Regions from separate parts of the Homo sapiens genome. Here regions 2 and 3 are each linked to region 1. Evidence: promoter capture Hi-C in 16 types of primary human blood cells and fetal thymus (Javierre and others, 2016). All regions are on one chromosome and are shown on one strand. The core of a region is centred on a gene start or on the middle of the fragment in contact, and the rest is flanking DNA. Distances in the headings are between cores, read along the strand shown.

Evidence for each region. Contacts are between HindIII fragments. The CHiCAGO score rates a contact against its expected background, and 5 or more counts as called.
Region 2: a fragment that was not itself captured here is called in contact with the fragment with the promoter of RBBP7 in region 1 in 5 of 17 cell types (M1 macrophages, naive B cells, erythroblasts and 2 more); the score reaches 6.9 in M1 macrophages.
Region 3: a contact is called between a fragment that was not itself captured here and the fragment with the promoter of RBBP7 in region 1, in 1 of 17 cell types (neutrophils). The highest score is 5.5, in neutrophils.

Annotation. Positions count from the first base shown.
Region 1 is chrX:16,868,365-16,872,337 of GRCh38, forward strand. RBBP7 (RB binding protein 7, chromatin remodeling factor) reads right to left here and starts at 1,998. Exons shown (of 12, transcript NM_002893.4): 1 at 1,674-1,998; 2 at 712-856. The coding sequence starts at 1,689. RefSeq lists enhancers at 915-1,004, 2,014-2,692 and silencers at 1,225-1,564, 1,585-1,634, 1,965-2,274. The HindIII fragment of the contact is 7,607 bases long and covers 1-3,973 here.
Region 2 is chrX:17,059,896-17,063,868 of GRCh38, forward strand. It overlaps REPS2 (RALBP1 associated Eps domain containing 2), which reads left to right. Exons shown (of 18, transcript NM_004726.3): 9 at 2,543-2,637. Among named protein-coding and RNA genes, the nearest start is that of REPS2, 120 kb to the left of the region's middle. The HindIII fragment of the contact is 2,230 bases long and covers 736-2,965 here.
Region 3 is chrX:17,000,811-17,004,783 of GRCh38, forward strand. The region is part of intron 1 of REPS2 (RALBP1 associated Eps domain containing 2); the gene reads left to right. Among named protein-coding and RNA genes, the nearest start is that of REPS2, 56 kb to the left of the region's middle. The HindIII fragment of the contact is 2,430 bases long and covers 496-2,925 here.

The DNA.
Region 1 (3,973 bases), core at 748-3,247:
CTCTCACTCCCAGTTTCCTTATCAGTAAAACAAGGATGATGAAAAGTACCTACAGCATAGTACTATTATGAGGATTACAACAAACAACAGGACGTAGATTCTTCAGATGTGCCAGGCCCTGTTCTGAGTGCTCAATAAATGCCAGCAATTATTACCAGAGAAACTGCAGATGTAACAGAAAAGAATACTCTTATGAAGACTAACAGCAATCTCAAAGTGTATTCCATAAGCCGATAACATCTTTTCTTTGGTCAATTGTTGACAAGGTCTTTTTCCCTTTACCAATTAAAATGTATTTATCTTGGATGACTGTTACGTGTGTTCACTTTGTAAAAATTTATCAAGCCATACAACACTTAAGATGTGTGAACTTTTCCGTAAATATTCTATTTTTCAGTAAAGTTTTAAAGAAACGCATTAGTTTGGGCCCAGAAAGATGCTGCTCTACATTCAAGCCCAGGAAATGTCAAATATATTCAGTGCTTCCTCCAAACACGATTAATCTCACAACAGCTTCTTTCTCCCCTTTTACCACCACACTATACACCAGAAATCATCCCACAAATCACGTAAGTTTTGAAAATAAAAACCACCTGCCACCTCATGCAAGGGCTGATTACATACTTATGTTCTATGCATAAAACGCCAAAACTAGGAAATTCAGAACGACAGTTAAATTTAAACAAAATAAAAGTTGCCAGAAACCCTTACTTAGTCACTTCAGGAAGCCACTGAACGGTAAGACTGGGCCACTGAAGAGCATGGGTCATAACCAGGTCATATAGAAACGGTGTATTCTTCTTCCAGATTTTATATTCTTCATTGATGACACGCTCCTCCACAGTATCTTCAAACACTGAAATTTGGAGAAAGCCCACACGATTAAGTGGCTGAGATAGATCAAAGTCAGAAATTGGAGGTCACCTCAAGATGGCCACACCTCATGTACTCTTTCCTTTTACCTCTAATTTGGACACGGACAACTAACTGCTCTTCCAGAAGGTGGAGAAAATACTAACAATCAGGAAGCCTATTTTTTCCATTGAGATCAATACCCCCTGCGTACACCATGTTGGGTAGTCAATTACACGGACATGGAAATTGTTTACCCTGTTACAGCTGTTCGCACCTGTTCTAAGATGACGACCTGTACGTACAGGGGCTGCGCGACCCAGTCGGGAAGACAAATGCACGTGTAGCAGAAGCCCACAGGCCTGGTCTCTCCAATCCCCATCAGGGGAGGCCCCAGCTCCCACGACGCCCGCCTCGGCAGCCATAGGCCTGAGGACCCCAGCAACCCCCGGACAAGGGCCGCGACCCCGAGGCGGTCAACGCGCGCGCGCGCGTAGAAAGAGCCGCGGCGCTCGCTTCCCAGCGGCGGGGGCCGCCTCCGCCCCGGGGCCGAGGGCGCCGGAGGGAGCGCAGCCGCTGGAGGAGGGAAGGGAAGAGGGGGGCCCAGCCCTCGGCCCCGCGCCCGGCTCCGGAAGTGCTCGGAGCCCTCGGCGCGGCGGTCCCGTCCCGCGCAGGCCCCTCGAGGCGCGCGCCCAGTCTCGCGCCCGGCCCCGCCCCCTGCTCCGCACGCCAATTCGCGCCTTTCGCCGGCGCGTGCCGCGGCCTCGCGCGCCCGCCGCCCCCCGCGGCCCCGGCGCGCGCCGCCCCGCAGGGCCTCTTACTCTCTTTACTCGCCATCTTGCGTCGGGTCGTTCGCCCCTCGCCGCCGCCTCGGACTCCTCTCGTTAGCCAAGAGCAGCCCGACCGCTGGCGCTCCTGCCTTTCCCAAGCGCGTCACACTCCCCACTGTCGAAAGCCCGGGCCCCGTCTTGCTGCCTGGGTGCTCCCCAGACGCCGCGTCCTTCTTTCCTGCCTCCTCCCCGCTCGCGGGTACCGAGGTCTGAGGCGCTCTTCTCTCTCTCTCCAAACTTGGAACGAGACTTTTCAACCCGCGCCTCCCAGCCCGCCCAGGCAGCTGAGCGCAGGCGCATCCGCCCTGGGAAAAGTGAGAGGAGGCGGAGAGGCGGGTCTGGGAGCCAACGGCTCCGGCGCCGAGACCAATGACGCGCGGCGGGCGGGTTTCACGCGGCGTTCGGAGGCGGGCTTCTGGGGGTGGGCGGAGCGTGCCGCGGCAGGAAGTTGGCGATGCGCAGGCGCGAGGGCTCGCCCGGCGCTCCCAGGGCCGGCCGCGGAGGCGGATGGGGCGCGCGGGGGCGGGGCGGATGAGGGCCCGAGGGGGCGGGGCGGATGGGGGCGCGCGAGGGCGGGGCTGATGGAGGCGCGGCTGGCCGGCTGAGTGGGGGCCGCGAGCCCCGGGGCGGCGAGCCTTGGGGCCCGCGGGGCGTGGTTGCTTGTAGCGGCAGCGGTGGTGGGGGTGAGAGGGGGGCAGGGAGGCTGCCGCCGCTTAGCCAAGCAAAATCTCAGAGCAAGAGGGGAAAATGGTTCCTGTTCTCGAGAGATTACTGTGCCTTCAAAGTCTCCCTGATAATCACGGACATGCAATTCTCTGCACCCCTGAAATGTTCTCCTCCAGCCGACTGGCCTTTCCTGGGGCCCGGTCGGGCCGAGGTGGGGCTGGTCTCAGACGGAGGAGAGCTTTTGGAGAGGCCGCGGGCGTTTTCTGCCTGCAAAAGCCGCCGGGCCGCCCTGTTAGGCTAAATGTGCAGCCTGTGGCGGCACAGGCCGCCGGCGGGCCGAAGCCGATTTACACTGTTACATTTTAATTTGTTCGATGTTTGGGTCCTTAAGATGATGGTTTGCGGCCTCTTCGCGCTTCAGGGGATTTTGTCCCTGCACTGGCGTTCCTTTCTCATCCCAGCCCCGGCCCCTGCTGAGTCATTTTTGTCACCTGCAGGGGTCCCAGCGCGACCCCACCCCAAGCTGGCGGAGCTGGAGAGAGCAGGGCTGAACTACCCTGGGCCTGCTTACCTGAGCCCTGCTCTGCTCAGGAACTTCATAGCCCCTGAGGAGTGTGTCGGGGGAGGAGAAAGCTGGCTGCAAGGCCAAAAGGGAAATAGAAGAAAATGAGGGCCAGGAGCAGAGGGGACGGAGTTGGGGGAGGCGACCAAGGTGCCTGCGTGCAAAGGGAACCGAAGTGTACGTCCAGCTCCGGGAGAGGCTCCTCTTGCAAAAGCACCCCCGGAACATTTGCTGCCTTGATACCTTTCCAAGTGCCTTCATGCTCAGATGCTATCTTGCAGATGCCGCTGTCATGCCCACTTTTCTGACCGGGACGCAAACCCAGACGTTAGTCAGTGGCAGAACCAGTCACATTCCCTTCTGTAGATATTTACTGTGTTGTTTCCGATACAATACCGTTCATTATTATAACGCCCTCCCCCCATTCTGGGTCAAGGAATCTTGTTAGTGCCTAAGGCTGAGGGGGTGGCTAGAGAGGGAAGAGAGTTGGAAGGGTGTTTAAGCAATACAGCCCTCATATTCTAGGACATTAGTTGGCAAGACTTTTTCTAAAAGGACCGAGATAGTAAATATTTTAGGCTTTGGGGGCAACTGCTCGACTCTGTCGCTTTGCAGCGCAAAGCAGCCATGGAAAATATGGATGCATTTGGCTGCGTTCCGATAAAACTACAGACACTAAAATCGTTTTCACGGGTCACAAAATCTTTTGATTTTTTTTTTCTATCACTTGAAAACGGAAAAACCATTCTCAGCTCGAGGGTCATACAAAAACATGTGGTGGGTTAGATTTAGTCGGAGGACTGTAGTTTGCCCACCTTGTTCTAGAATAATTGTACCTTATGGCTCTGCTTCAAAGAGAACCTCGTGTGCAAAGCAAGAGGCGGCTTGGGAGATGATTTGTATCCCTTTAATACAGTGTACTCATTTCTGACAAGTAGACATGATTTCCAAAACCTATTAAAAGAAATGTTTAAAGGACTGAAAGAAAAGAAATCTTCCCAGACGACTTGGCTTTAAAATCTTGATACTGTTTACCTCAGTGAGGGTCAGAGAAGGAAATATG
Region 2 (3,973 bases), core at 601-3,100, 190 kb after region 1:
CTAGCCTTTTGATAGTTTCATCAAAAGTCTCCTTTTGATAGTTTCATCAAGAGTCTCCTTTTGATAGTTTCATCAAGAGTCTCCTTTTGATAGTTTCATCAAAAGTCTCCTTTTGATAGTTTCAGCTGGGTGGGGTGGCTCACGCCTGTAATCCCAGCACTCTGGGAAGCTGAGGCAGGAGGATCAATTGAGGTCAGGATTTTGAGACCAGCCTGGGCAGCATGGTGAAACCCTGTCTCCACCAAAAAATACAAAAATTAGCCAGGTGCGGTGGCGTGCACCTGTGGTCCCCAGCTACTCGGGTGGCTGAGGCAGGAGAATTGCTTGAACCTGGGAGGCAGAGGTTGCAGTGAGCCGAGATTGCGTCACTGCACTCCAGCCTGGGTGACAGAGTGAGATTCCATTTCAAAAATAAAATAAAATAAAAATAAAAAAATAAAAAAAGTCACCTTTTGATAGGTGATTGGGTGGGTTCTGGTAGAAATTTTTGCCATAGAGTTTGTTAAAAAATACCTATGGAGTACTTACTGCGTGAGAGGTACCACATTGTTCACTGTGGTCAGAATGCTGTATGACAGAGCTCCTACTCCCATGAACTTGTGGGCAGTTGATACGTGCCATGAAGGGGAAGTACAGGTGCAGCAAGAGGGTGCATGATCTTAGGGAAGATTTCCTTAAACGTTTGGGCTGAGATGTGAAGGCTGAGCTAAGGACTACATAGGTGAAGAAGAGAGAAGCTTAGGTTCTGGGAAGGGGGAACAGCAGGTATGCTGGGGAGGCTCTGAGAGGGGGCTTGGAGCATAGGAGGAGTGGGAATTTCAGGCCACAGTGGCTGGCGTGCACAGAACCGGGGTAGAGAGGCTGGGTTGAAGCTGAGGAAGAAGGTGGGGAACATATGACGGGCAATAATGTCACCTTATTTTAGGCAGATAAGTGACACAATCAGATTTGCTATGTGAAATGATCATGCAGGTTACTGTCCAGAGAACAGGTTTTGAGGGGCACGGGTAGAAACCAGAAGACTAAGTTGTGGTAGCTGGCCAGTCAGGAGCAGCGGGGTGCTTGCAATGGGGAGGTGACAGTGATATGGAGAGATGTGGACACCTTGGAGAGAGATTTAGCAGGTAATTGACAAAATTATAGTTTTGGAAAGTGTTAGCTTTCTTCACAGGAAGATCCGCTCATGATAAAGCATCAGTCATATAATACCAGTCAGAGCCTTGATTGATAGACTAGAAAGAGAAATCGGTGAAATTCAGACCAGAGTAAGCAAATGAACAAATTAAGGTGCTTGTACTCAACTCCATGTGGTGCTGATACTCAGACCAGTACTTCCTTACTTACTTACTGTATGTATGTATGCATGTATGTATTTATTTAAATTAGATAGACACGTAGGTAGGTAGGTAGGTAGATACAAAGACAGATGAAACAGGGTCTCACTATGTTGCCCAGGCTGGTCTCAAACTCCTGGGCTCGAGCAATCCTCCTGCCTTGGCCTCCCAAAGTGCTGTCATTACAGGTGTGAGCCACCATGCCTGGCCAATGGCCAGTACTTTACTGCAGAAGGATATTGGCATTTCAGTCCCTGATGGGAGTGGGAGGGTGGGGAAGGATTAAAAACAATGCCAATCCACTTTTCACATTTGATTCAAATTTTTTTAAACCTTGCATTACAATTTTATTTCCTAATAGCTTGTTGTGACAAATTTGATTTGTAGCTTCTGTTTATTATCTGCCACAGTCTGCTTTTCCTCTTTGGAATATTGACAAATTTTCTAGCTGTTGAGATATTTCTTTCCTAATTACTTTGTGACAAAGTAGTGAAGCAGAATCCGCTTCTAAGACATAGCCTGGTGTGAAGTAATTAGCTTACCAAGTAGCCTGATCTTTCCTCGTGTGAATTCACTCAACTACCGAAATAACAGCCAGTGTCACTATTGCATATTGAAAGAAACCCTTAATGTGATTCTTTTTTTCTTTGTTGTAAATCAGCAAGAATTTATGCTCTTATTTTTATCATTCCTGCCAACCAAGGAGATAAATATTTCGTAAAATCATGTTGGGTGCACATCATTATAAGATCTTGCCTATTTCTAACAATAGTTAAATGATGTATTTCCTTAGTTAATGTCCCTATACATTAGAAACTACACTAGTAACATAGTTAAGACTTACATATTGTGATAGTGATGGTTATTGTGGAAAATTACTATGCTATAACATGAAGTGTTCAGAGCACATACCCTTCAGCCAGACTGCTGAGAGTTCAAGTCCCTGCTCTTCCATTTATCAGCTGTATGACCTTGAGTAAGTTGCCCTGTTCTCAGTTTCATCACATGTGAAATGGGGATAATAGAAGTACTGGGTTGTCCATATAAAGAACTGAAAGTACTACCTCAGCATGATGAATGCCATATGTGGTCTATCAGAGCTAGCTGATTTTGTTGTTATATTTAACAAGCACAGAAAAGCTGATGGGAAACACTGATTACTATGGCTATAGGAAATATTCTGATATATTCTTTTTGTTTCTTCTTAGCTTTTCCTAAGCCCAAATGGGACTGTCAATTATTTGATTCTTATTCTGAGTCACTGCCGGCAAATCAACAACCTCGTGACTTGAATCGGATGGAGGTAAAAGATCTTCATATGCTAATAAATAAGGATGTGTATGGAGCTAAATCCATTGGCCTATGTTCTTTACAAATTCTGGAAAATGAACTTTTTTTTTGTTTGAAAATGAGCTTTTATAACATTTCCTTTTCATACTTGGTAATTATTAATACTTTGATGCTCAGCCTTTCAGATCTAGACACCAGATGTATCTATAATTTTTTTCCCTTTTCTCCCTAAAACTGGATGTGGTAAAGTAAGTAACATAATCTCTAGACCTTCTAGATGTGAAATGTAGATATAGCCAAACTAAGACAGAAAATTCTAGCCAAGTTATTTACTTTAACCAAGCTTTAATTCCCTAGTAAACAATTTTGATTCTATTTTTATCAGTTGGGCATTAATAAGCTATACTGAATCAGAACTGTTTTGAGAAGAGGTTTGAGAACTTTATATGAGGGCCCCAAATCACATTCGGAACTCCCTCAGGGTTTTTAGCTTTTGAACCAAATGAGGACTGATTTGGATGATCCCCAGAAGGAACTTGGAGAATTCCCCCAGTGTTGGGCCATGGATGGAAGGGCTTAGCCAAGTGCTTAGGAAGCCTTAGCTATGGATCAATAAATAGGAGTTGTTATAGTTATTGTTGTCATCACCATTGTCATTATCATCATCATCACCATTATGATTACTGTGATGACAATTTAGGATACCTGCTTTTCCCTTCCTTAAAAGATCTGGAAATGTTTAATAAATGGAGCTTTATTCACAGACTCCATAATAGTCAGAGACTATTAGAGTCCTCTGACCCTAGTTGAAACCACTGCAAGATGATAGAAGTCAAAGTCAGGGAACAGGGACATTTCTTTAATTTCTTGTGACTGTGCATGATGATTTATTCTCTCACATGAGGCCCTCATGCCTGTAGCATGTGTTATGGATGGCACCGTCTGCTCCCCTGTGAGCCAGTCAAGCCTGCCTTTCCAGTGCCCCTCTGACTAACATCTCTCTGCCATTTTGCTTCTCTTTCTTTGAGTTGTGTCCTCCATGGTACTTTCCTCAGATTTCTACTCATGGGAAAAAGACATAAAGAAAAGTCACTTCAGGAGGAATGACAGATGTGCATTTGAAGAATTTTGGTTAAAATTTTTTTTTTCTGCAGAATGCTTATGACAAAGAGAGAGATAAAATAGTTTGCCACTTTTCATGGCCCTCAGTTTACTTTGGGGCTTCTAGCAGTGTTTAAAGAGCTTTGTTTATCAAGCCAGGATGGATACATCTATGGCTCTCTGACTATGTGTGTGTGTGTGTGTGATGGGCCCCCTGCTTGCATAAAATGATGAAGTTATTAGTTGGT
Region 3 (3,973 bases), core at 461-2,960, 130 kb after region 1:
TAGTGTTCCCTTTCATCAAATCGATTGCAAATGTTCATCTGTAAATACCATTTATTTTCTCCTTGTGGGCCATAGAAAACCAAGCAGTGGGCTGGATTTGACCCATGAGCGGTAGTTTTCCAACCACTGATGTAATGGAAAGACCATGAGCTTTGGACCTGGATGCATGTAGGTTTGAGTACTGGCTCTGAATTTGTGACCTTGAACATATCACTTAACTTTCTGAATTGGGAAGGTTTATTTGTGTATAAACTGAGTGTAATGACACCTATCTCATGGAAAAAATATTACCCCCATCTTTGTGATTTTGCATTAGTATTCTAGTTCTGTAGATGCTGATATGATTTAGCTAGACTTACCTAGAAAATTAGTATTTAACTGATTTTAAAGCTGACTTTTCAAGGGATAGAACACTCACATGGTCTTAAAGTACAATGTAAAAACATAGCTTTGCAATGAAGAGATCTGGCAGTCACCACATTAATCAAATGACCAAGCTTTGCAATCAGTACCAATGGTGGGATGTTCTGACATTGTGTGCCCCTCACTGCTGTGTACCTCTCACTATATCTCAGTATCACCTGTGTGGTGTTCTTGCCAGAAACTTTTGACTTTAATGTAATCACAATAAAACAGACAAATCCAAAACATGGGATGTTCTGAGGACAACTGGCCTGGATTCTTAAATGATTCAGTGTCATTAAGAACCAAGGGGGATTGTTCTAGATTAGGGGGAGACTAAGGGAAAATGAGATAAAAATGCAGTGCATGAACATTGACTAAATCCTGGATGAGGAAAAGAAAATTCAGCTCTGTAGGCATTTTCTGGATAATCAAGGGAATGTGAATGTGGACCATATGTTGTATGTTAGTCCATTTTCACGCTGCTGATAAAGGCATATCCGAGACTGGGAAGAAAAAGAGGTTTAATTGGACTTACAGTTCCACATGCCTGGGGAAGCCTCAGAATCATGGCAGGAGGCAAAAGGCACTTCTTACATGGTGGTGGCAGGAGAAAAATGAGGAAGAAGCAAAGGCAGAAACGCCTGATAAACCCACCAGATCTCATGAGACTTGTTCACCATCACAAGAATAGCATGGGAAAGACCGATCCCCGTGATTCAATTACCTCCCCCTAATTGTTCAAGTCCCTCCCACACACGTGGGAATTCTGGGAGATACAATTCAAGTTGAGATTTGGGTGAGGACACAGCCAAACCATATCATGTTGTATGATAATATTGTGTTAAAGTTGATTTCCTTGGGTGTGGTGATGATGGTGCGGTGGTGTACGAAAATATCCCTGTTCTTAGAAGGTGAATAGTAAAGTACTTAGGGGTGGTGTGTCATGAGGTGTGTCTGTAACCCACTTTTCAGATGGTTTGGCAAAATGGGAGGGAAGGAGGGAGGGAGAGAGAGAATGTGTGTGAGTTTGTGTGTATGTAGAATAGGTGATTCTGTGCATTGCTGCTCAGTTCTTAGCATAGCACTCAGCACATTGCTTTTGATAGGGAGGTGCCCAACCAAAACTTGTTAAACTAACAAGTACTTTAAGGTTTTAGTAGGATTCTCTGAAATCACACCTCAGCACTGCCTGTCTGCCCTCTCTTTAGCAGTGTCATTTGGCTTAGGCATATACTATAATGCCTAATGTTGGGTAATCAGATATGGGGGTTCATGTTTTCTTGAGTAGCTCACCCATGTCCCTCTGGACTGAAAGTCTCTCTTGAATGTTACAGTATAAATGAATGGGAAAGGAAAACCCAGCATAGAGGTTGACCTGCGTGTTCAGCTGTTCCCTGAGAGGCTGAGGTACAATTTGTAAGCATGTACTTCAGATTCTCTTCTGTATTTCTGTTGCTGAGTTTGCCCACTTGGGGAGGGTTGACACCTCCTGGGGCTGTGCTGAGTAGGAGGTGCATCTCTGGAGTTCTGACTGGCTGGAGCATCACTGAGGTATTCTCCTGGGCTATGAGGGCTAGGGCCAGGATAAAGAATGGTGGATGCCTTTCCTTATGCCTTGATCCTAACCGGTACCCTCTTAGCTGAGCAGGAAGGGAACAGAGAAATTAATATTCTCTTATATTCCTGCAGGAACTCTTATGGCTATATGGTGTGAGATGACTAAAGCCAATTTAGCAGCTACTTGTAAAAGTAATAAAAATGGAGGGGAAGAAGAAAGATTCTGATGCAACAGGCTGTGAAGACTAATTCAACATTTATTTATTGAGCTACTGAGCATATAGCAGGCATAGTAAAGTATGAGTCCTGGGGGATACAAATAATAAGAATATACCCTCGCTTTCTGCTGGGCACTTAGGGCATAGGGAAAGGAGATGGGCTACAGTGGAGATAATTATCAAAATACCAATTGTGCTGTGTTGCAAGGCTAGGGATGTGTTAGAAAGCTAGTAAAAAGTGTTATGGGAATGCAGAGAACATGCCATGTGGAATTGACTACAGTTTCAAAGATAAGGTTGGTCTTGAGGTGACTTGAAGAATGAGCCTGGCAGGCAAAGAAATGGGCATCTGGTGTGACTAAAGTCTTAATTAGCTGTAGGGTGGGGAGGAGAGAGACATGACGATGTTGGAAAGGTAGTTTGGGCCAGACAGGAGGGCCTCAGAAGCCATGCTTGGTTTCACAGGAAGGGCGTGAAGAGTCCCAGAAGCCCTTTGAAGTTGGAGGGTGATGTGGTTTTGATAAGAGGTCACGGAGGGAATGTAGAAGCTGGTGTGTGAAGGTGTGTGAGTCTGGAGACAGGACTTGAAACAGTCGAGGCGAGAGCAAAGAATCTGGATTTTGCTAGCTGCAGCAGAGGGAGAGTAGAAAATGGGGTGCTCTTGGAGAATTCTTCCAGCCCCTCCTACTAGGAGTTTTTACATTTTCAAATCTTTCTAAGGAAACCTTTAATAATACTTGAGAGAAGCTTATTTAAACCTTTGAACAGTTCTGAAAATGTATTACATTTCAGCCAGGAAAGAAAGTATTATTTCAGGCAAACTGGAACATGGTTACTCAGCACAGTCGCCTAATCTTATAGAATTAGGTAGGAGGGAAGCTATGTTAGTGGCCTTCAACCTTCTTCCAGAACTTTGTTCAGATTTCTCCCAAATGGTCGGTGAATTTTTCTGATTTGTATCCAGCATCCCAGCCATTTAGTGTACATCCGTAAGCTGTAAGGAAGTTGATTTAATCTATTTCTTTTTTTCATCTCTTGCCTTCCACCTGAGAAAACACTACTCCATAGGTTCTTATTCTGTATTAGGAATTTGCACAATGTGTAACCTAAGATGGATCCAGCTGGGAGTTGGATCCAGCTGGGAGTGTTACAGGTTTGGAGTTTAGACTAAAGAAGAGGAGTGGAATCTTTTCATTTTTTTCCCCTTTATTTTGAGGAAAGCCCAGTGATTTGGATTGTTTGAAGGATCAATTATATCAAATATCTCCACTAATTGAGTATCTGGGATAAACTTTTTTTTTCACCTTATTTTCTTTAGATACCATTAAGCATTTCGACCCACAACTTACAGCTTTTCCATGGAGATTTTAAACTTAGAAAACTTTGAACCTTGATGAATGAAAAAAACCTTTCAGAACTAACCTTTTTTTTTTTTTTTTTGATTCAGAAGTCCATGTGTAAGTTCCAAAGGCTTATAATTCTTTTCTCTTCCTTGAGGCTTGACTATTTCAGAACGTTCTTGGTATGTCTCTTGGAGGTTTGGTGTACAAAGAGCAAGGAAAGTAACCTATGGGCTTAACTCACTTATGTGTATATATTCTACTTTGGCTCCAAAGCAATGATTCTAGTGGTGATATGGGACCAAGGGACAGATTTCAAGGTAAATAAGGCTGTTTACTAATGTCAGATTAAGGTATTAGTCTTCAAGTACCATAAATGTTTTACTAGCAATTTCAGTTACCTGTAGTAAAGAGCTTTCCAGTTCCATGTGGTAGTTATGGTAAAGGAGCAAC